Linked DNA regions of Homo sapiens: region 1 is linked to region 2. Evidence: promoter capture Hi-C in human tissues and cell types (Jung and others, 2019). All regions are on one chromosome and are shown on one strand. Each heading gives the region's core, a stretch centred on a gene start or on the middle of the fragment in contact. The rest is flanking DNA. Distances are from core to core; before and after follow the strand shown.

The links. Contacts are between HindIII fragments. The study calls those that stand out against the background at their distance.
Region 1: a fragment that was not itself captured here is called in contact with the fragment with the promoter of RALGAPA1 in region 2 in 1 of the 25 tissues and cell types used here (dorsolateral prefrontal cortex).

What each region holds. Positions count from the first base shown.
Region 1 is chr14:37,190,472-37,197,183 of GRCh38, reverse strand. No RefSeq gene overlaps it. Among named protein-coding and RNA genes, the nearest start is that of MIPOL1, 4.1 kb to the left of the region's middle. The HindIII fragment of the contact is 8,563 bases long and covers 219-6,712 here.
Region 2 is chr14:35,804,850-35,812,134 of GRCh38, reverse strand. RALGAPA1 (Ral GTPase activating protein catalytic subunit alpha 1) reads left to right here and starts at 2,840. Exons shown (of 42, transcript NM_001346249.2): 1 at 2,840-3,405. The coding sequence starts at 3,300. RefSeq lists enhancers at 2,694-2,793, 2,630-3,190 and a silencer at 2,874-3,113. The HindIII fragment of the contact is 4,642 bases long and covers 1-3,830 here.

The DNA of each region.
Region 1 (6,712 bases), core at 3,251-5,750, 1.4 Mb before region 2:
CTCATGATTCCTTCAGACACCAAATACTTAGTGACCACATACCATGTGCCAGGTACTCTTCTGGGTGCTGAGTAATAAGCAATAATATTTTTTAATACACCCCAGAGAATAGGCATAATATGAGGTGCTGACGGGTTCCTAAATTTGTGGTTAAAGTTAATGAAAGGAACTTATCCTTTAGTAAGTGTACAAAAGAGAGTTTAAAAAACTGAAAAAGGCCGGGCGCGGTGGCTTACGCCTGTAGTCCCAACACTTTGGAAGGCTGAGGCAGTGGGATCGCTTGAGCCCAGGAGTTCGAGACCAGCCTGGACAACATGGCGAGACCTTGACTTTATTAAAAATCAAAAAAATTAGCTGGGCATGATGGTGCATACCCGTAGTCCCAGCTACTAGGGAGGATGAGGTGGGAGAATCGCTTGAGCCCCAGAGGTGGAGACTGAAATAAGCTACGATGGCTGGCGCCACTGCACCCCAGCCTGGGGGACAGAGCATGACGCTGTGAAAACTAACAAAATGGAAAAGTTGGACGTAGATTAACTTGGAACAACAGAGGTTATAATATTCACCAAATTTTCGTTATGTATGCTGTAATGAACAGTGTTCTCAAGAAGTTTGTTACAGATTCAGCTTTGAAATGCTTTTTTCTTTTTTGCTTTACTTCAGTCAGGATTTGAATCATATTTATGAACATAAAGTACCATAAAAATCTATGAGACAAAAACAAAGAGTGTACAGTTTATCAGAGCAAATACTCCAATCAGGAAGTATATAGCTTGTGCAAAGGCTTAGGGCCAAATCAAATTATGTGTAAAACAAAGGAAAAAGTTGATTTTCCTGGCTAGGAAATAATAAATAAAACAGGATAGTGACTACCACAATGAGAACATTCAAACCATGTAATGAATTAGTAGAATAAATTTAGAGAAAAATTATAATATTTTTCATTGAGTAAAGTTCATTTCCTCCTTTTTTTAAAGCCCATTATCTGGGTGCTTACAGTCTCTGGCATAAAGAGAAACCTCATATTTTCTTTCCTTTTAGTAAGCTGATTTTCTCTCTCTCTCTCTCTGTTTTATGCAGTGAGTTCAAACATTAGGACTAATTCTCCCTATTCTTTTTCCTTTTTCCCTAACATACCTGAAGTAACTCATTAATGTTCTTTCCCTAAACTTTTGATACCACAACAGGTAAGTTTTCCCCTACTCCCCTCCACCACCACCATAACCAACATATCCATTTCTTCATTTTCTATTGTTCTAACAGTTGCCTGTCTATAAGAAATGAAAGAGATAAATTAGAGCTTTTTTCTTTTCTCAAAATGATTATCAAAGATATTGTCTATGTCCTCATACCTCATACAAGCTGGACTTTTACAGAAATATGGATGAAGATGAGAAGAAGAAAATGAACCACTCTTTCGTTACAGGGAGAAAAAGAATGTCATATTATTAATATTATCAAGTCTGTTAATGTCAGATCATTAATATTCTCAAGTCTATAAATATTAGGCTTCTGCAGTGTGTCACACACTGATCAGTTCTGCAAATAAAATAATGAATAACAATTAGGCACACAAGTAGCTGAGAATACCATATGTATTAATCAGGGTTCTCCAGAGAAACAGAACAAACAGGATATGTGTGTATACACAGAGACTACATAGAGAGAGGGACAGTGATTTATTGTAAGGAAATGGCTCATGCAGTTGTGGACTTTTAGTGAGTCCAAAATCTGAGGGAAGAGGCGGGCAAGCCTCAGAAAAGAATTGTAGTTGGACATACATGGAATGTAATCTGTTGTATTCAAAGTCTGGTGATTTAAATGGTAATCTCATCAAAAAAACACCTTCACAGAAGCATCCAGGATAACGTTTCACCAAATATCTGTGCACCATGGCCCAGCCAAGTTGACAAAATTAACCATCACACTGTGTAAACTGAGAAATGGCTTTGGGAGAGGGGAGTTCAGGGGATGAGGAAGACAGAGTCAGGAAAATCTGAAGGAGATAATGCCTCCTGTAGTATGAATAAGACTTAGCAAGGTGAAGAGGTGAGGGTGGAGGTGCAGAGAAAACAGAATTCCTTATAAAGGAATCAATATGGGAGTGAGATACTGTAAGGAGCTATAAGCAATTTAATATCACAGTATAAAATTTAACATGGAAAGTGGTGGGAAATGAAGTTGGAGAGATTATGAAAGGTCTTTTTTAAAAATAGAGTTGGGGACTCACTATGTTGCTGGGGCTGGTATCAAAGTCCTGGCCTCAAGCAGTCCTCCCACTTTGGCCTCCCAAAGTGCTCGGATTACATGCATGAGTCACCATGCCAGGCAATATAAATGATCTCCTAATTAAGTACCTTGGACTTGATTCTATAGTCAATGAATTTTGAAAGTTAAAACAGGAGTGATGAGATTAGATTTACACTTTCATTCATCAATTTAGAAATACGTTTCAGAATCAAAATTCTCAAGTTTGCAAGACTAGTTAATCTAATTGAAAAACGATAAAAAGGCTGGGCTCTGTGGCTCATGCCTGTAACCCCAGCACTTTGGGAGGCTGAGGTGGGTGGATCACTTGAGGCTAGGAGTTGGAGACCACCCTATCCAACATGGTGGGACCTCCCCCCACCGTCTCTACTAAAAATACAAAAAATAGCCAGGCATGGTGGCACATGTCTGTAATCCCAGCTACTCAGGAAGCTGAAGCATGAGAATCACTTGAACCAGGAGGTGGAGGTTGCAGTGAGCTGAGATTGTACCACTGCACTCTAGCCTGGGTGACAGAGTTAGACCCTGTCTCAAAAAATAAATAAATAAATAAATAAATAATAAAATGTATGTGGTAAAGCACGATAGATGGAAAAGGGTAGCTTGAAGAAGTAGGAAATAGTTTGCAAAATCTGGTAAATAACTAGTTGAGAAAGAGGAAAGTGTTGATGGTATTAAAGAAATTGGTGAATAAGTAAGTTCAGTTTTGATAGAATGAGTTTGAATTGCTAGGGAAGCATCTTAGAGTAGCTTTCCAGCAGTCATATGCAAGGAAGCATTCTAGACTGGGCTAGACATGAGATTAATGAACATAGATATGATGGATAAAGCTATTTTTTAAATTTTCAAGTCAGTCTCATAGCACTTTGCTTGACTACAGTAATCCTTTTAAAGGATATGAGGATCCTTTAGCTACTACCTGTCTAAAGGATCATGATTCATTTTTTAATAGGCTTTTTTCATACACTTTAAGTTCTAGGGTACATGTGCACAACGTACAGATTGGTTACATCGGTATACATGTGCCATGTTGGTTTGCTGCACCCATCAACTTGTCATTAATATTAGGTATTTCTCCTAATGCTATCCCTCCCCCAGCCCCCCCCCACCCAACAGGCCCGGGTGTGTGATATTCCCCTCCCTGCGTCCATGTATTCTCATTGTTCAATTCCCACTTATGAGTGAAAACATGTGGTGTTTGGTTTTCTGTCCTTGTGATATTTTGCTGAGAACGATGGTTTCCAGCTTCATCCATGTCCCTACAAAGGACATGAACTCATCATTTTTTATGACTGCATAGTTTTCCATGGTGTACATGTGCCACAGTTTCTTAATCTGGTCTATCATTGATGGACATTTGGGTTGGTTCCAAGTCTTTGCTATTGTGAATAGTACCGCAATAAACATACTTGTGCATGTGTCTTTATAGTAGCATGATTTATAATCCTTTGGGTATATACCCAGTAATGAGATTGCTGGGTCAAATGGTATTTCTAGTTCTAGGTCCTTGAGGAATCGCCCACACTGTCTTCCACAATGGTTGAGCTAATTTACACTCCCACCAACAGTGTGAAAGCATTCCTATTTCTCCACATCCTCTCCAGCATCTGTTGTTTCCTGACTTTTTAATGATCACCATTCTAACTGGTGTGGGATGGTATCTCATTGTGGTTTTGATTTGCATTTCTCTGATGACCAGTGATGATGAGCATTTTTTCATATGTCTGTTGGCTGCATAAATGTCTTATTTTGAGAAGTGTCTCTTCATATCCTTTGCCAACTTTTTGAGGGGGTTGTTAGTTTTTTTCTTGTAAATGTGTTTAAGTTCTTTGTAGATTCTGGATATTAGCCATTTGTCAGATGGATAGATTGAAAAAAATTTTTCCTATTCTGTAGGTTGCCTATTCACTCTGATGATAGTTTCTTTTGCTGTGCAGAAGCTGTTTAGTTTAATTAGATCCCATATGTCTATTTTGGCTTTCATTGCCATTGCTTTTGGTGTTTTAGTCATGAAGTATTTGTCCATGCCTATGTCCTGAATGGTAATGCCTAGGTTTTCTTCTAGGGTTTTTATGCTTTTAGGTCTTACATTTAAGTCTTTAATCCATCTTGAGTTAATTTTTGTATAAGGTGTAAGGAAGGGATCCAGTTTCAGCATTCTACATATGGCTAGCCAGTTTTCCCAGCACCATTTATTAAATAGGGAATCCTTTTCCCATTGCTGATTTTCGTCAGGTTTGTCAAAGACTAGATGGCTGTAGATGTGTGGTATTATTTCTGAGGCCTCTATTCTGTTCCACTGGTCTCTATATCTGTTTTGGTACCAGTACCATGCTATTTTCATTACAGTAGCCTCGTAGTATAGTTTGAAGTCAGGTAGCATGATGCCTCCAGCTTTGTTCTTTTTGCTTAGGATTGCCTTGGCTATGCGGGCTCTTTTTTGGTTACATATAAAATTTAAAGTAGATTTTTCCAATTCTGTAAAGAAAGTCAGTGGTCGCTTGATGGGGATAGCATTGAATCTATCAACTACGTTGGGCAGTATGGCCATTTTCACAATATTGATTCTTCCTATTCATGAACACGGAATGTTCTTCCATTGTTTGTGTCCTCTTTTATTTCGTTGAGCAGTGGTTTGTAGTTCTCCTTGAAGGAGTCCTTGACATCCCTTGTAAGTTGGATTCCTTGGTATTTTATTCTCTTTGTAGTAATCCTGAATGAGCGTTCACTCATGATTTGGCTCTCTGTTTGTCTGTTCTTGGTGTGTAGGAATGCTTGTGATTTTTGAACATTGATTTTGTATCCTGAGACTTTCCTGAAGTTGCTTATCAGCTTAAGGAGATTTTGGGCTGAGATGATGGGGTTTTCTAAATATATAATCATGTCATCTGCAAACAGAGACAATTTGACTTCCTCTTTTCCTAATTCAATATCCTTTATTTCTTTCTCTTGCCTGATTTCCCTGGCCAGAACTTCCAACACTATGTTGAATAGGAGTGGTGAGAGAGGGCATCCCTGTCTTGTGCCTGTTTTCAAAGGGAATGCTTCCAGTTTTTGCCCGTTCAGTATGATATTGGCTGTGGGTCTGTCATAAATAGCTCTTATTATTTTGAGATACGTTCCATCAATACCTAGTTTATTGAGGGTTTTTACCATGAAGGGCTGGTTGAATTTTGTCAGAGGCCTTTTCTGCATCTATTGAGATAATCATGTGGTTTTTGTCTTTGGTTCTGTTTATGTGATGGATTACATTTATTGATTTGCATATGTTGAACCAGCCTTCCATCCCAGGGATGAAGCCCACTTGATCGTGGTGGATAAGCTTTTTGATGTGCTGCTGGATTCAGTTTGCCAATATTTTATTGAGGATTTTCACATAGATGTTCATCATGGATATTGGCCTAAAATTCTCTTTTTTTGTTGTGTCTCTGCCAGGCTTTTGGTATCAGGATGATTCTGGCCTCATAAAATGAGTTAGGGAGGATTCCCTCTTTTTCTATTGATTGGAATAGTTTCAGAAGGAATGGTACCAGCTCCTCTTTGTACCACTGGTAGAATTCAGCTGTGATTCCATCTGGTCCTGGACTTTTTTTGGTTGGTAGGCTATTAATTATTGCCTCAATTTCAGAGCCTGTTATTGGTCTATTCAGAGATTCAACTTCTTCCTGGTTTAGTCTTGGGAGGGTGTATGTGTCCAGGAATTTACCCATTTCTTCTAGATTTTCTAGTTTATTAGCATAGAGGTGTTTAGAGTATTTTCTGATGGTAGTTTGTATTTCTGTGGAATCGGTGCTGATATCACCTTTATGATTTTTTTATTGTGTCTATTTGATTCTTCTCTCTTTTTTTCTTTATTAATCTTGCTAGCAGTCTATCAATTTTGTTGATCTTTTCAAAAAAACCAGCTCTTGAATTCATCGATTTTTTTGAAGGGTTTTTTTGTGTTTGTGTGTGTCTCTATCTCCTTCAGTTCTGCTCTGATCTTAGTTATTTCTTGTCTTCTGGTAGCTTTTGAATTTGTTTTCTCTTGCTTCTCTAGTTCTTTTAATTGTGATGCCGGGGTATAAACTTTAGATCTTTCCTGCTTTCTTGTGGGCATTTAGTGCTATACATTTCCATCTACTCACTGCTTTAAATGTGTCCCAGGGATTCTGGTATGTTGTGTCTTTGTTCTCATTGGTTTCAAAGAACATCTTTATTTCTACCTTTATTTCGTTATTTACCCAGTAGTCATTCAGGAGCAGGTTGTTCAGTTTTCATGTAGTTGTGCGGTTTTGAGTGAGTTTCTTAATCCTGAGTTCTAATTTGATTGCACTGTGGTCTGAGAGACAGTTTGTTGTGATTGCTGTTCTTTTACATTTGCTGAGGAGTGTTTTAGTTCCACTTATGTTGTCAATTTTAGAATAAGTGTGATGTGGTGCTGAGAAGAATGTATATTGTGTTG
Region 2 (7,285 bases), core at 1,591-4,090:
TATTTTTAATAGAGAAGGGGTTTCTCCATATTGGTCAGGCTGGTCTTGAAATCCTGGCCTCAGGTAATCCACCTGCCTCGGCCTCCCAAAGTGCTGGGATTACAGGAGTGAGCCACCACGCCTGGCCATCTACTAAATTTTTTTTTAATTAGCTGGGCTTTTTGGCACCTGCCTGTGTTACCAACTGCATGGGAGGCTGAGGTGAGAGGATTGCTTGAGTCCAGGAAGTTAAGGCTAAAGTGAGCTGTGACTGCACCACTGCATTCCAGCCTGGATGACAGAGCAAGACCCAGTCACTAAAAGAAAAAAAATCTAGTTCTCACAAGCAATATATATATATATATATATATATATATATTTTTTTTTTTTTTTTTTTTTTTTTTTTTTTTTGAGACAGAGTCTCACTCTGTCAACCAGGCTGGAGTTCAGTGGTGCAATCTTGGCTTACTGCAACCTCCGCCTCCTGGGTTTAAGCAATTCTCCTGCCTCAGTCTCCTGAGTGGCTGGGATTACAGGCGTGCCCCACCACGCCTGGCTAATTTTTTTGTATTTTTAGTAGAGACGGGGTTTCACCATGTTGGTCAGGCTGGTCTTGAACTCTCCTAACCTTGTGATCCGCCTGCCTCGGCCTCCCAAAGTGCTGGGATTACAGGCATGAGCCACCGTGCCTGGCCCTCACAAGCAATATTTCAAAGGTATATTTCTGGGTTTTATTTCCATGATAATTATGTCTGCTGTGGGGAAGACTTATCTTTCAAAGAATTTTAATATTTAAATCAATGGGAAGAGAAAAACCAGGCAGTGGGATGGGTGTGCCATATGTAAATTACATTATACTAGTTTGTTTTGCAATGGTGTTTTCATTTTTTCTCAGGTATACCAGCCATATAATTATTTTTAACGATATGTTACATTTTTATTCTCTAAAATTATGTCACTCATTTGCCAAACATTTACTGAGTACTTGCGCAAGAGAAAGGAAGGGACAGTGACATTCGTTCTTCTATTCGACACAGATTTATTGAGCCTATCTTGCAAAGAGCACTTTGCAAGAAGACTGGGATACAACTTTAGACAATCTATACAGTCTCTGTCCTCAGGGAGTTTACAGTCTCATGAAAGAGAGAATCTGTAAACAGTTACACAAATTACTGTATTTAAATTCTATGAAGGAAAGGAATGTTATGAGATGTGTCATTATAGATGTAACTTTCAATACTTTTCTCACCTAATTATCACAATCACTGATGTAGTTTACAAATGAGGAAAATCAGGCTGAGACTGAACTACATGCCAAGGGCCCGAGAGCAAGTAAGTCCTTGCAAGTGAAAAACAGAATGTCTAATTTAGGTCTATGTAATTCTAAAGATCATGCTTGAAAACATTGTATTATTGCCTAAATTTCACGAAACTGTGAGGGACAGACCTTATTTTGATTTTATTAATAAGAAAACTGATGCTGAGAGGAACTAGAACTAAAATCTCTTGAACAATCCCCTTATTTTTCTATTATGTTATAAGCTTCCTCAAAACATGTATGGCTTGTAAGTTTGATGATACAAACAAACCCTACATGTAGAAACTGAATAAATTTTTTGTACTTTAAAAAATATAGGATTGTTGTTGAAACAAACTACCATTAAGCAAAGCACTATATTTTAACATAATTTTGGCAAATGTCTTACATCTCTCTTCTTTGCTGATTTTGTTATTTTTCTATGTTAATCACATATTTCATTGGACAAGTCTATTGCTATGGGTGAGAACATAGAAGGAAACAGTTCAAACAAGCAAACTCACTCTTTATCAAATTATTTTGTGGAGGAAATGTTCCTGGCCAGGCGCAGTGGCCTCACGCCTGTAATCCCAGCAGTTTGGTAGGCTGAGGCGGGCGGATCACTTGAGTCTAGGAGTTTTAGACCAGTTTGGGCAAAATGGCGAAACCCCGTCTCTACAAAAAACACAAAAATTAGCTGGATGTGGTGGCGCGCACCTGTGGTCCCAGCTACTCGGTAGGCTGAGGTGGGAGCATCACCTGAGCCTGGGAGTTCGAGGCTTCAGTGAGCTGAGATCACACCACTGCACTTCTGCCTGGGACACAGAGACCCTGTCTGGAAAGAAAAGGAAAAAGGAAAAAAAAAAAAAGGGTTCCAATAAAAATTTCAATTTATGTCATTCAGAATTTCACGGATTTTTTTCAGCTATTGCAGATTCTTCAGATGACTCCATCAATGTAATAAGAACCTTGAATTCTTCTTTGCAGAGGAAAAACTGACAATATATTCATCTTTATGTGGGGTGCAGATGGGGAAAAGATTTTTAAAAGCACAATAGAAAAGGAAAGCAAGATTACTTTTATTTAAAAAACCTAGATACCTCTGCTTAAGCCTTTCTGTTGTCAAGTTGTTTGCAGCAAAAAACAGGGATATTGCAAATAGAAAAAATATGAAAGAAATCACATACATAGTGCAGGAAATATTATTAGTAATAGATTTAGGACAGAATAAATTGCCCAACTGTAACTTCGTTTATCTTTCTGCTAGAGGATCTGGTGGCCACAACAACTTATGCACATTTTCAAAGATAAATCATGGACATATTTAATAAAGATTACTTCTCTTTGCTTATTACTATCATTTGGCTTACAATGGAGCACGCAGTAACTACCTTCCTTGCCTTTCTTGAGATTCTCCTTTGGCTGCTTACACAGGAAACCAAGGCGGGGAGTGCCACGGGTGATCTCATGCTGGCATGACGTCAAGAACTCTTGACGTCAGAAGGCGGTTGCCACGGACACCGTTCGCCACCGACGGCAGAGTCGTGAAACCCCATCACTACCACACTCGTCTCCGTTTCGGCCTCTGCAGGGTGTAAGCTGCTAAAGAAGCTTCAACCTTAAGGGGGCCTCAGGGAGAGAGTTGTGCTCCTGCCGCCGAGAGCTCCACCTTCGTGGCTCTGGGTCCGGGGCCCCGGCCTGTGGCGGCGAGCGGCGGCCGCTGGAGACGAGCGGCGGCGGCAGGCGGCCAGCCCGGGTCTGCCTCGCTCCGTGCAGGGCCGGGAGAGGGATCCGCCATATTGGAGCTGGGGCCGAAGGTGCCTTGGAGCCGCGGCGCGAGGCGGGTGGAGGTGGCGGCCCTGGCCTGGATCGGGAAGGAGTCGGCTCTGCCCTGGCCCGCAAGGCTGGGGAGCTAATGAGCCTCTCTGGCTAGTCTCCTCCCCGTCCACTCCCTCCACTTTCTGCCGCCGGGACCCGGCTGGGAGCCGGCTGTGGCAGTGGCAGTGGCAGTGGCAGCGACAGGATGTTCTCCAAGAAGCCGCACGGGGACGTGAAGAAGTCCACCCAGAAGGTGCTAGACACCAAGAAGGACGCACTGACTCGCCTCAAGCACCTGCGCATCGTCATCGGTGAGGAGCGAGGGGTGGCAGCGCCGAGGCCTGGGTTGCCCGGCCTTCCCTCTCCTGGGAGCCCCTGCGGACTCTCTCTCGGGACCTGGCGCGGTGCAGGAGAGGGCAAATCGTAGCCTCTGCGGAGACGCGGGAGGGTGAATAATTCGGAGAAGCGAAAACTTGGCAGTTGGCAGCACTGATTACTGTTAACACAGTAATCTAATTTTGAGTTAATAGTCTGAACTTATTTTTTAAAATTGGTATTACTCTAAAAACTTAGATCTTTAAGACTTTGTGGGGAGACCTGGCGTTGTGGATAATGGTGTTTATAGGATATGTTTGCCAGATGACTACTGCCAACCCCACCCAAGTAAAAAGAAAAATAAAATCCTCTCTCAGACAATATAAACCTTAATCTTTCAAGTTTCTTGGCAGATGAAGACAAGGAGGTAGCAGTTACACCTCTTTGGGAAGTGGGCGGTTCCCAAAAAGCTGTGGGAAGGAGCCCCGCCCTTTTGTTAATGCACCTTGTTCATCACTAGTCATTTAGAGGGAGAACTATTATAGGTAGTTTAACTCATCCTTTGCTTCTCGAGAATTGTATATAATTCTATTTTTAATTAAAAATATTTTTTTTATCGTCTGCCCTTAAGTTCTGTTTTGCTGGTAGACCAAACAGTGCTCTAAGTTTTGAATATAATGTTAATCGACTCTTTTGAATACTTAGTCATTTGGTAGGCTGATAAAGGCTGTAATAATACTTATGGAACATCTGGTCCAGTAGTTGGATTTTTTAGATGAAGACATTTGAGATGAAAAGGAAAATTATTTCGCCTGTGTTGATACTTAGAGTTAATGGTGGAACTGGCTGAAGAAGATGCATTCATCCAGATGCCTGAATCCTAGTTCAGAGTTTATCTCGAGCTGTCCTCCTGATGCGTATTTGTTTTGGAAAGTGATGTTTATTTAGTGAAAAAAGTAAGTCCCTTATTTGAGGTACATGTTTCTCTAGTCTATTGTTTACTCATACCACCAGGATACCACCAATATTACCCAACATTTCTATGATGCTTTACTGTTTACAGTGATTTCACGTAAATTATGATAATCCTTGCAATAACTCTATAGGTAGATGATATTATTCTCCATTTTTTACCAACAAAAAAGCTGAAGTTTGGGAACATCGAGTAGTCAGCCAGCTACCAGGAGGCTGAGTCAGAATTGGAACCCAGATTTTGTGTCTCTAGTTTGTTTTTTTACTCTTTCTACATTTATGACAGCTAATCTTTGTCACAAGTAAATTGTATTTATTCCAGTGGAGTAGTAAGAAAGCAGTTAATCCAGTTTAGCGCTATAAAAAGCTCAGTTTTCAAGAAAATGTAAAGCTTCTAAATATAGTGGAGATTGTGATCTTTTTGTTTTCATTCTTCTTGAGAGTTAAGCCATTGAAATAAAGATTTAGCCGAGAATAGGACACAGTAAGTTAATGTGTGAATGCAGGCGAGGGATTCACAGGTAATGGCAGTTTGAAATTGAACACTTAATGGAGCTTGACACCTACTTGGGATAAGCTGTAGGTTAGGTAATGACACAGCTATAAAGTTGAGTTCCAATAAAGTATCGAGATTTCCTAAATTAAAGGCCATACTTTATTTATAGACTGGTTAAGGAATTATTTATATATACTTTTTTGGCATAGAGTTTTTTTCCATCTGGCAGACATGGAAAATTAAAAGGTAAATTAAGAGAGAGGTCACACATATAAGGCATTTTGTAGGACTTAGCTTGCTTGGTTTGAAAACAAAACAAAACAAAAACAAGTCTTTTATTGTTGTCGTTATTTTGTTTGAAATACAGTTAATGTAATTTCTAAGAAAATGAATGAGAGAAAGTAGAATGACAAAAACTAGTGTCTTTTAGAGGTCTGCCAATCAGGTATTTGATTTTGCAGATGGAAAATCCTTTCTGGAAGTAGGTGCGGGCTTTAAATAAGGTAAACACAATGAGGAAACTAGTTTGCAGAGTAATTGGGCATTGCCAGTTACACAGGCTTTTGATTTTTGTTTGGTCCCATAGTTCATAGTTCATATGGGACCAAACAGAACTGCCATTCACTCAGGGTACTTATGGGAGGATTCAGTGCATCTATATGTATGAGAACATAATCATAATTTAAACATCCGCTGTAAACTTTTTTCCTGGCATGTGTTCCCACTGTAGGACAATCCAAGTTAAATTTATAGAACTTGACTCTGAAGATTTAGATTTAAATCTGGTATGTTTATTGATACTGTTGCATAATTGATTTGTAAAAACTAGAAGTCAGGGTTTTCTTAAAACAGAAAAAAAAGCCTTGTCTGATTTCTAAAGCTGTTATCCTTTCTACCTACCCCCTCCCCCCCATTTTACAACTAATGGTAATGATATTATAAATTAGCACATGTAAATTGGCTAACATAATGCTTGGCATATAGTGGGTATTGACTTAGTGTTAGTTTTGTTCTACTTTACAGCTAACAGTTCAGTCCTCTTGATATAAAAATAAAAAGTGCTTATTTAGCTAAAAATATTTATTGTTAAATAATTCTGACAGCTTTATTGAGGTATAATTGGCACACAATAAACTGCACATATTTAAAGTACATAATTGAATAATTTTTACATATGTATATCTCCTGAAACCATCATAACAAATATTTAAAATATCCAATCAAGATAACAAATATAGACAGTGACAATCAGGATAATATATGTATAATCAGCTGGGTGCGGTAGCTCATGCCTGTAATCCCAGGACTTGGGGAGGCCGAGGTGGGCGGATCACGAGGTCAGGAATTCAAGACCAGCCTGGCCAACAGAGTGAAACCGGGTCTCTACTCTACTGAAAATACAAAAATTAGCCAGGCATGGTGGCGTGCACCTGTAGTCCCAGCTACTCAGGAGGCTGAGGCAGGAGAATCGCGTGAACCTGGGAGGCAGAGGTTGTGGTGAGTCGAGATCACGCTACTGCACTCCAGCCTGGGCAACAGAGCGAGACTCCGTTTCAGGAAAAAAAAAAAAAAAAGAAAAAGAAAAAATATATATATGTATGTATGTATAACCTCCCAAAGTTTTCTCATGCCCCTTTGTAATCTCTTTCTCCCACCTCAGTTGTACCCTCCCACCTTTCCTGAGCAACCACTAATCTGCTGTCACCCTAGATTAGTTTGCATTATCTAGAGTTTTATATAAATGGGATTATACAGCATAAAAATGGAATTATGCAGTACGGTCATTTTATGTTTGATTTCTTTTTTTTTTTTTTTTGACACGGAGTCTCACTCTGTCACCCAGGCTGGAATGCAGTGGCGCGATCTCGGCTCACTGCAACCTCCGCCTCCCGGGTTCAAGCAATCCCCCTGCCTCAGCCTCTTGAGTAGCTGGGATTACAGGCGCACGCCACCAAGCCTGGCTAATTTTTTCTTTTTTTTTTTTCTTTTGTATTTTAGTAGAGACAGGGTTTCACTGTGTTGCCCAGGCTGGTTTCGAACTCCTGAGCTCAGGCAGTCCCCCCGCCTCAGCCTCCTAAAGTGCTGGGATTACAGGCATGAGCCACGGCGCCCCGCCTTTTTTTTTTGTATTCCTAATAGAGATGGGGTTTCACCATGTTGGTCAGGCTGGTCTTGAACTCGCGACCTCGTGATCCGCCTGCCTCAGCCTCCCAAAGTGCTGGGATTACAGGCGTGAGCCACCACACCTGGCCTTGGTTTCTTTTTCTCAGCCTCATTATTTTGAAATTAATCTGTATCCTGGTATGTTAATAGTTCATTGCTTTTTTTTCTTGTGACAGGGTCTTCTGTCACTCTGGCTGGAGTACCGTGTTGCAAACGTGGCTCATTGCAGCCTTGACCTTTCAGGG